Regions from separate parts of the Homo sapiens genome. Here regions 1 and 3 are each linked to region 2. The links are contacts of gene promoters, found by promoter capture Hi-C in human tissues and cell types (Jung and others, 2019). All regions are on one chromosome and are shown on one strand. Each heading gives the region's core, a stretch centred on a gene start or on the middle of the fragment in contact. The rest is flanking DNA. Distances are from core to core; before and after follow the strand shown. Region 1 overlaps NUP62 (nucleoporin 62). Region 2 holds the start of ADM5 (adrenomedullin 5 (putative)). Region 3 overlaps MED25 (mediator complex subunit 25).

The links. The method cuts DNA at HindIII sites, captures the fragments that hold promoters and counts their contacts. A contact is called where the count stands out against the background at its distance.
Region 1: a contact is called between a fragment that was not itself captured here and the fragment with the promoter of ADM5 in region 2, in 1 of the 25 tissues and cell types used here (pancreas).
Region 3: a contact is called between a fragment that was not itself captured here and the fragment with the promoter of ADM5 in region 2, in 2 of the 25 tissues and cell types used here (heart left ventricle and pancreas).

The regions. Positions count from the first base shown.
Region 1 is chr19:49,908,416-49,911,115 of GRCh38, reverse strand. NUP62 (nucleoporin 62) reads left to right here. Exons shown (of 3, transcript NM_016553.5): 3 at 1,232-2,700. The coding sequence starts at 1,309. It also overlaps a transcript of IL4I1 not described here. Among named protein-coding and RNA genes, the nearest start is that of IL4I1, 13 kb to the right of the region's middle. RefSeq lists a silencer at 662-741 and an enhancer at 2,479-2,700. The HindIII fragment of the contact is 3,328 bases long and covers 1-2,700 here.
Region 2 is chr19:49,688,162-49,690,861 of GRCh38, reverse strand. ADM5 (adrenomedullin 5 (putative)) reads right to left here and starts at 1,268. Exons shown (of 2, transcript NM_001101340.2): 1 at 951-1,268; 2 at 287-756. The coding sequence starts at 1,024. The coding sequence ends at 369. PRMT1 (protein arginine methyltransferase 1) reads right to left here. Exons shown (of 11, transcript NM_001536.6): 11 at 2,415-2,700. The coding sequence ends at 2,617. It also overlaps a transcript of CPT1C not described here. RefSeq lists a silencer at 809-878 and an enhancer at 2,187-2,700. The HindIII fragment of the contact is 11,781 bases long and covers 1-2,578 here.
Region 3 is chr19:49,822,239-49,824,938 of GRCh38, reverse strand. All of the region lies in intron 3 of MED25 (mediator complex subunit 25), which reads right to left. Among named protein-coding and RNA genes, the nearest start is that of MED25, 5.3 kb to the right of the region's middle. The HindIII fragment of the contact is 3,177 bases long and covers 1-2,700 here.

The DNA.
Region 1 (2,700 bases), core at 1-2,500, 220 kb before region 2:
AGGGCAACAGAGTGAGATCCCATTTCCACAAAAAATAAAAAAGATTATCCACGCATGGTGGCATGCACCTGTAGTCCTAGCTACTCTGGGAGGCTGAGGTGGGAGGATCACTTGGGTCCAGGAGGTTGAGGCTGCAGTGAGTTGTGATCATGTCACTGCATTCCAGCTAGTATGACAGAAAAAAACCCTTTCCCAAAAGAAAAAGAAACCACCCCTATTCAGCACTCCCTCTCACCCTTTCCTCACCAGGTAACCTTTGACCTTCCTGCTGATAGATGGCACCACTGGGAGATTTTTCAGTTAGACATTACCAAAATCAAGTCAGTTTGAACTGAATGGAAATACTGTGGCCCATGGGTCTTCTGGGGTGCTCTTTATCCCTCCCCCACCCCCACCCCCACCCATCTCTGGTGGGGCTCATGGTCTCCCGTGATGTCCCAGTGTCTGCAGATGGTTGAGAAGGTGTCCAAGGGAGGCCCAGGTGCAATCCTCCACACCACACCTACAGGTGAAGGAGGCAGCTGCCTTCCAAGCCTGGAGAAAACCCCAGGGGAGGCTCCGATTGCCTGGCTCAGGTCTCAGTTTATCCTTGAGCCAATCACTGCAGCCAGGGGCATCTGTGCTCTGAGCACATGGGTTTCAGACCCTCCCCTGAGTTAGGAGGAGGAGTTCCAGTGTCCTCTCCTGCTCTTAGAGAGTGCAGGTGTGGGCCTGGGGGGCCTTCAGCAACCCAGACCCTGCCATCCAGCCTGGGTTCCCGGCCCCATCTCTCTCTCTGAGGTCCAGAGAGGCCCTCAGGGTGGCAAGAGCTGATCCGCTCACACCCTGCTAGAGTCAGCCAGGGAACCTCACTGGGTCCCACGCTGGGAGCAGGTCCTACAGCTGTTCTTGTGTGTCCTAGTCCCGCTTGTGGCAGTGCCTCAAATCTGATCTCCTCAGGCTGAGGTGGGTCCAAGGTCCTGTTCTCCCGCCTCGTCCTCCACAGAGTGGGAGCTTTCCACTGGGCTGAACATGGCCACGCACGTCCCTAGCACCCCGGCTCCTCGTACCTGACCCCTGGGGCGTGCTTTTGTGCTTCTGGATCCTTCTCGATGTAGCAGAGCCTAGTTTAGGTTACACAGCATGCATCATTATCCCATCCCACCACCCTCCAAACCGACTGTGCCCAGTCATGCCACTGAGCTTGCCTTTCCAAAACTGCCATCTGACAATGTCACTTCCTCTGCTTTAGAAATCTTCCCAAGGCTGCAGACACCGACGGATTTGCTTTGGGAGCCAGAGTAGCTGCCGCCACCAGAGTCCGGAGCCATGAGCGGGTTTAATTTTGGAGGCACTGGGGCCCCTACAGGCGGGTTCACGTTTGGCACTGCAAAGACGGCAACAACCACACCTGCTACAGGGTTTTCTTTCTCCACCTCTGGCACTGGAGGGTTTAATTTTGGGGCTCCCTTCCAACCAGCCACAAGTACCCCTTCCACCGGCCTGTTCTCACTTGCCACCCAGACTCCGGCCACACAGACGACAGGCTTCACTTTTGGAACAGCGACTCTTGCTTCGGGGGGAACTGGATTTTCTTTGGGGATCGGTGCTTCAAAGCTCAACTTGAGCAACACAGCTGCCACCCCAGCCATGGCAAACCCCAGCGGCTTTGGGCTGGGCAGCAGCAACCTCACTAATGCCATATCGAGCACCGTCACCTCCAGCCAGGGCACAGCACCCACCGGCTTTGTGTTTGGCCCCTCCACCACCTCTGTGGCTCCAGCTACCACATCTGGAGGCTTCTCATTCACTGGTGGAAGCACGGCCCAACCCTCCGGTTTCAACATTGGCTCAGCAGGGAATTCAGCCCAGCCCACGGCACCTGCCACGTTGCCCTTCACTCCGGCCACGCCAGCAGCCACCACAGCAGGTGCCACACAGCCAGCTGCTCCCACACCCACAGCCACCATCACCAGCACTGGGCCCAGCCTCTTTGCGTCAATAGCAACTGCTCCAACCTCATCTGCCACCACTGGACTCTCCCTCTGTACCCCTGTGACCACAGCGGGCGCCCCCACTGCTGGGACACAGGGCTTCAGCTTAAAGGCACCTGGAGCAGCTTCCGGCACCTCCACAACAACATCCACCGCTGCCACCGCCACCGCCACCACCACCAGCAGCAGCAGCACCACCGGCTTTGCCTTGAATTTAAAACCACTGGCGCCAGCCGGGATCCCCAGCAATACAGCAGCTGCCGTGACCGCTCCACCTGGCCCTGGCGCAGCTGCAGGGGCGGCTGCCAGCTCCGCCATGACCTACGCGCAGCTGGAGAGCCTGATCAACAAATGGAGCCTGGAGCTAGAGGACCAGGAGCGGCACTTCCTCCAGCAGGCCACCCAGGTCAACGCCTGGGACCGCACGCTGATCGAGAATGGAGAAAAGATCACCAGCCTGCACCGCGAGGTGGAGAAGGTGAAGCTGGACCAGAAGAGGCTGGACCAGGAGCTCGACTTCATCCTGTCCCAGCAGAAGGAGCTGGAAGACCTGCTGAGCCCACTGGAGGAGTTGGTCAAGGAGCAGAGCGGGACCATCTACCTGCAGCACGCGGATGAGGAGCGTGAGAAAACCTACAAGCTGGCTGAGAACATCGATGCACAGCTCAAGCGCATGGCCCAGGATCTCAAGGACATCATCGAGCACCTGAACACGTCCGGGGCCCCC
Region 2 (2,700 bases), core at 19-2,518:
AGCCCACCCCAGGTGCATTATAACGTCAGGCGCGTAGGGTGCCGGAGCAAATCTCAGCCCTTTCACGCCAGGGAGGGAGGAGGGATGTTTGGGGGTCAGGACGGCCCGCCAAAACCACCCACGGAAGGTGCATGGATTGAGTTGGCAAGAAAGGCGCCACAGCGGGTTGGATTCAAGGTAGACAGTGGGACTTCCGTGAGGGAGAAGCAGCATGGCTAATAGAGAAAGGTATATTAGAGACCCAGCCTCGACTGAGAGGTCGAAATAGGTACAGAGAAGCAGAGACTGAAACACGGAACTCTTGTTTATTCGGCTCTGGGCGTCAGTGTTCTTCGCCCAGCCTGGTCCCGTGTGCTTCTAGGTCCAACCTAGTCGCAGCCCGGGGAGGGACTGGGGAAGACGGTTTCAGGGGCTGGAGTTAGGGGAGAAGAAATGTGGAGTAGAAGCTCCAACATACAGATAGGCAAACTGAAGCCGAGGAGGGGACGAGCCGTGCCCGAGGTCACCCAGCGAGCTGGGCACTGCGCTAGCCCCCTCGCTGCAGGCCGGAATCCTGGGAACCGAGCCGGGCTTCCGCCTCGCGCCACCGGCGGCGCCCATAGCTGTAGGGGTCCTGGGGCTCGTGGCTGGCCTTCCCCGAGGGCTCCTTGGTGGAGACAGCGAATCCAGTATATGATCTCCGCCAGGCGGTGGGTCCGGCATACGCCCAGGTAGCAGACGTGCCCGCGGTGCTGGGGGACCTGGTGCTGGCCTCGCCTGGAGAGGGAGCGTGGGAGAAAACCGGGTTCAAACCGAATTGAGAGATGGAGCGTGATGGAGGTGGGCACCCAAGCACTCCAAGACCAGCGGGGAGGCTTACAGATCACCTGCCCGTTCCGCGGCCGGGAGAGGGCGCTCGCCCTTTACGGTCTCCCTCCCGCCCTGTCCCTGCTGCCACCCGGGTTTCTCACCTGGCTGCAGTGTCCAGGTCCCCTTGGGCGGAGAAGGCGAGGAGCAACAGCAGGATGAGGATGTGGATAGTCATCGTGGGCAGGGCGGGTCAGGATCCGTGGCCCGTAGTTGCGGCCACCCCGCCCCGTTCCCGCACCGGGCTGATCGCCTCTGGGTGCAGCTCTGGAGCCAGGTACCAGGGCCAGTCCCCACTTCCCAGGCGGGGAACACTGAGGCCAAAAGTCTGTGGGAAGAGGCCGCACCACACCAGAGGGGCAGGATTCAAACCCGGGTCCCCGCTTCCCGCACCGCGGCTCCAGAGACCTCACTGGGTGTGTGGGGTCACACCAGCTGCTGTCTATCCCCCTAGGAGGTCTGTGGAGACTCGCCCCCTTCAAAGCGTGGGGAAATGGGGCGGGGCCAATGACACCCGCAGGTAGCTAAGCAGCGGGATTCCAAGAAAAGGGGTGGCGGCGGGGAAGCGCTGGCTCTGGTTGTAGATGCGACCTCACCCTCACCCTGTCGGGAAGCCGGTTAGTAGACAGTTGGGACCCTGGAACCTCGGGGGCCAGGCAATGCAGGGCAAGTGCACATGCGGCCCCCTGGAGGGCGTGGAGCGAGGGAGACCCCAAACACACTGAGGAGCGCCCCTCCGGAAGAGAAAAGGCCGAGGTGTCAGGCACTCGCCGGTGAGGGCTCCAGTTGCACTGAAGCAGGTGTAGCCAGGGCTGTTCAACGAGGAGGGTGTCCTGGGTCAACCAGGTCGAGTGCACAGTATTGTGGGGGACCCAGGACCCCGTGGCCAGGCCCTGAGGGTGGAAGGGTGGGTGCAGACGCCATGTCTGCAGCAGAGGCAGAGGGACCTCGTCTTCACCTCTGTAAGATGGGTAGGCCCTGCCACCTTACAGCTGCAACTCCCACTGACCTCCATGGAGGGCAAGTCCCCAGCCCTAAGCCCCAAGCCATTCTAGGGGAGGAAGCAGGGCCACTCCCCCATGAGAAATTCTATCCTTGCAAACATACACCCCCAACCCACTCAGTGTCCCCAGCTGCAGAGGGCTGGGCACAGTTGGGCCTTGAAGGGACCCGAACAGGAAAAAACAGCCAGAGAGGAACAATGTCGAGTGTTGGGGGGAGGTGGGGAGACTGTTCTGGGAAACTTGAGGGCTGGCTGTGCTGGAAAGCCACCCCCATCCCCTACTAGGCAGGACACGGGTACCGCAGAGGGGAGGGGCGCAGACCCAGGAGAGGGATGAAAAGAGTTGGACAAAGACCCTGAGAGACAGCTGTGGAGGACAGGGACCCCGAGAAGGAACCAAGGAAGGGGAGCAAGAGGCCTAGAGACGGGGGACGGGAGACGCAGATCCACAGAATGGCAGCCACCAGCAGGTGCCAAGGCCGGTCCCCCCACTGCTGAGGCTGGCACTGCAGTACCTGCGAAAGGAACCCCAAACCTCCTTTGCCCCCAGGAAACAAAGCCAGACCCCAGCTGAGGATTTATTGGCGTAAATGCAACCATATAAAAACATAAGTTATGAAAAACACAGTCACGATGTGCCCTCCCCATCCCCCCAGCCCAGGCCCCTAAAACCCCCTTCTGCGGGAGGGAGGGAGAGGAAGGGGGAGCCCCGAAACCGCCTAGGAACGCTCAGCCCCTGGGCTCGTGCAGGGCGGGAGAGCCGGGCCTCAGCGCATCCGGTAGTCGGTGGAGCAGGACAGCTCGCACAGCTGGCCCTTGAAGTCCAGGTCGATGGTGAAGTCCAGGTCCCG
Region 3 (2,700 bases), core at 83-2,582, 130 kb before region 2:
CTTACTCCCATTTGTTCTACCCAGTATCATTCCCCGGGGTCTCTGCTGCCCGCTTTCATCGGCTAACAGGTGCCTGGAGCCCCAGGAGGTCAAAATGAGTGAATGTTAACAGCATCCGGCCATGACCAAGGGCTCCCTACACACGGCCTGTCACCCAGGCAAACTAGTTCCATGAGGGCCAGGACCTTGCCTATCTCATGCCCACTAACTCCTTGGTGCCCAGGACGATTTGTTCCACAAACATTTGTTGAATTAATGAGTGAACATATGAATGAACAACTGAGTTGTCATAATGTTATGGGAAACACACTGGGTCTATTTTCCTTCCACCTCTTTTTTTTTTTTTTTTTTCCCGAGACAGGGTCTCGCTCTTTCACCCAGGCTGGAGTGCGGTGGCACAATCTCGGCTCACTGCAACCTCTGCCTCCCAGTCTCAGTTGATCCTCCTACCTCAGCCTCCTGAGTAGCTGGGACTACAGGTGTGCACCACCATGCCTGGTTAATTTTTTCTATTTATTTGTTGTTTTTGTATTACATACTAATTCATTTATTCAGCCAGTCTCCTGAAGCCCCGTGGGTGCCAAGCCCCAGCTGGAAGCAAATGGCAGAAGCACCCAGGGACCTGGACATTCACAGTCCAGAGGTGTGGGGCTGTGACAGGTCATGGAGGCAGAGGAGGAAGCATCTGGCTGCAAGAATCGGGAAGGTTTCCCAGGGTATAAGACACCTGAGCTGGGTCTGGAAGGCTATGCAGTGTCTTCCAGGGTGGTTAGTATTAAATGCATTCTGGACATTCATTCTACAGAATTTACCCGAGGCCTCCTGTGTACCAGGCCCTGTGCTGGCTGCCAGGCACTTGAGGAGCATCAGACTTGGACCTGGGCCTCAAGAAGTCTCCATTTAACATCACTCAAGACTGTCTTACCGGTCTCTCCCAGTGGTCTCAAATGGAATACATTTTGCGCCCCCTTCCCAGAGGATATTTTATAATGCCTGGAGACATTTTTGGTTGTCACACCTTTGGGAGGGGGCTACCGGCATCTAGTGAGTAGAGGCCAAGGATGATGTTAAACATCCTACAATACCCAGGACGGCCCCCACTACAAGGAATGACTGTGTCCACAGTGTCACTAGGGCCAAGGATGAGAAACCCTGCTCTGTGTTACCTACGAATTCCAGCTACCGCGAAGGGGAAGCTTCTGTGTCACCTTTTCACTATATGTCCTGCACCCAGCACTTGCACGCACATACTGGAACAAAGCAGATACTCAACAAACACCTGCTGCAGAAGCATACAGAGGTAACGGCCGCTACGAACAGGTGTTGTTTAATGAACCTTGACTGCAGACCAGGCCCTAAGCGACACACAGCAAGCAACTTAGCTCCTGTGATCTTCTAACAACACGGAGATACACGCGACCATTATCCATTTGCAAACCAGGAGAGTGAGGCACAAAATCCTAGGAAACACTTACACGGCACTTAATACATGCCAGGCACTGTATTAAACATCATCAACTAACTTAATTCTCCAAACATCGCTGTGAGGTTGCGGTACCCAGCCCCCAATACAGCACCCAGCAATCCAGCCTCTTGCTATTTACACACTGGGTAGTCTCCTCCTACACTGAACGGGATAGGCTTATACTGCACACCAAATGCAGTATGGCAGAAGTGGACTTGGCACCGCAGCTCAGGCCTGTGATCTCAGCACTCCAGCACTTAGGGAGGTCAAGGCAGGAGGATCGCTTGAGGCCAGGAGTTCAAGACCAGTCTGAGCAACACAGCAAGACCTCATCTCTACAAGAATTAAAATAAAGAAATCAGCCATGCATGGTGGTGCCCACCTGCAGTCCTAGGTACTCAGGAGGCTGAGGTGGGAGGATCACTTGAGCCCGAGAGGTCGAGGCTGCAGCAAGCTATGATCCCACCACTGCACTCCAATCTGGGCAACAGAGCAAGACCCTGTCTCAGGTTAAAAAACAGAATGTAGGCCAGGCGCGGTGGCTCACGCCTGTAATCCCAGCACTTTGGGAGGCCGAGGCGGGTGGATCACAAGGTCAGGAGACCGAGACCATCCCGGCTAACACAGTGAAACCCTGTCTCTACTAAAAATACAAAAAATTAGCTGGGTGTGGTGGCGGGCACCTGTAGTCCCAGCTACTCAGGAGGCTGAGGCAGGAGAATGGCGTGAACTCGGGAGGCGGAGCTTGCAGTGAGCTGAGATCGCACCACTGCACTTCAGCCTGGACAACAGAGCGAGACTCTGTCTCAAAAAAAAAAAAAAAAAAAAAAAAAGAATGTAACAGAAATAATGACATGACGTGTAACTTCCAAGACTTGATTACAAAGAGCCTAGTGGGGCCTCTGGGTGCAGCATCTCATGCCTCTAATCCCAGCACTTAGGGACACTGAAGTGGAGGATCACTTGAGACCAGGAGTTCAAAACCAGCCTGGGCAACATTGCAGGACCTTGTCTCCACAAAAAAAACAATTTTTTTTTGAGACAGGGTCTCAGTCAGTCAGTCACCCAAGCTGGAGCGCAGTGGTGCGATCTCTCCACCTCCTGGCTTGAAGTGATTCTCCTGCCTCAGCCTCCTGAGTAGCTAGGATTACAAGGCACATGCCACCACACCTGATTAATTTTTGTATGGTTTTTTTTTTTTTTTTTTTTTTGAGACAGAGTCTTGCTCTGTTGCC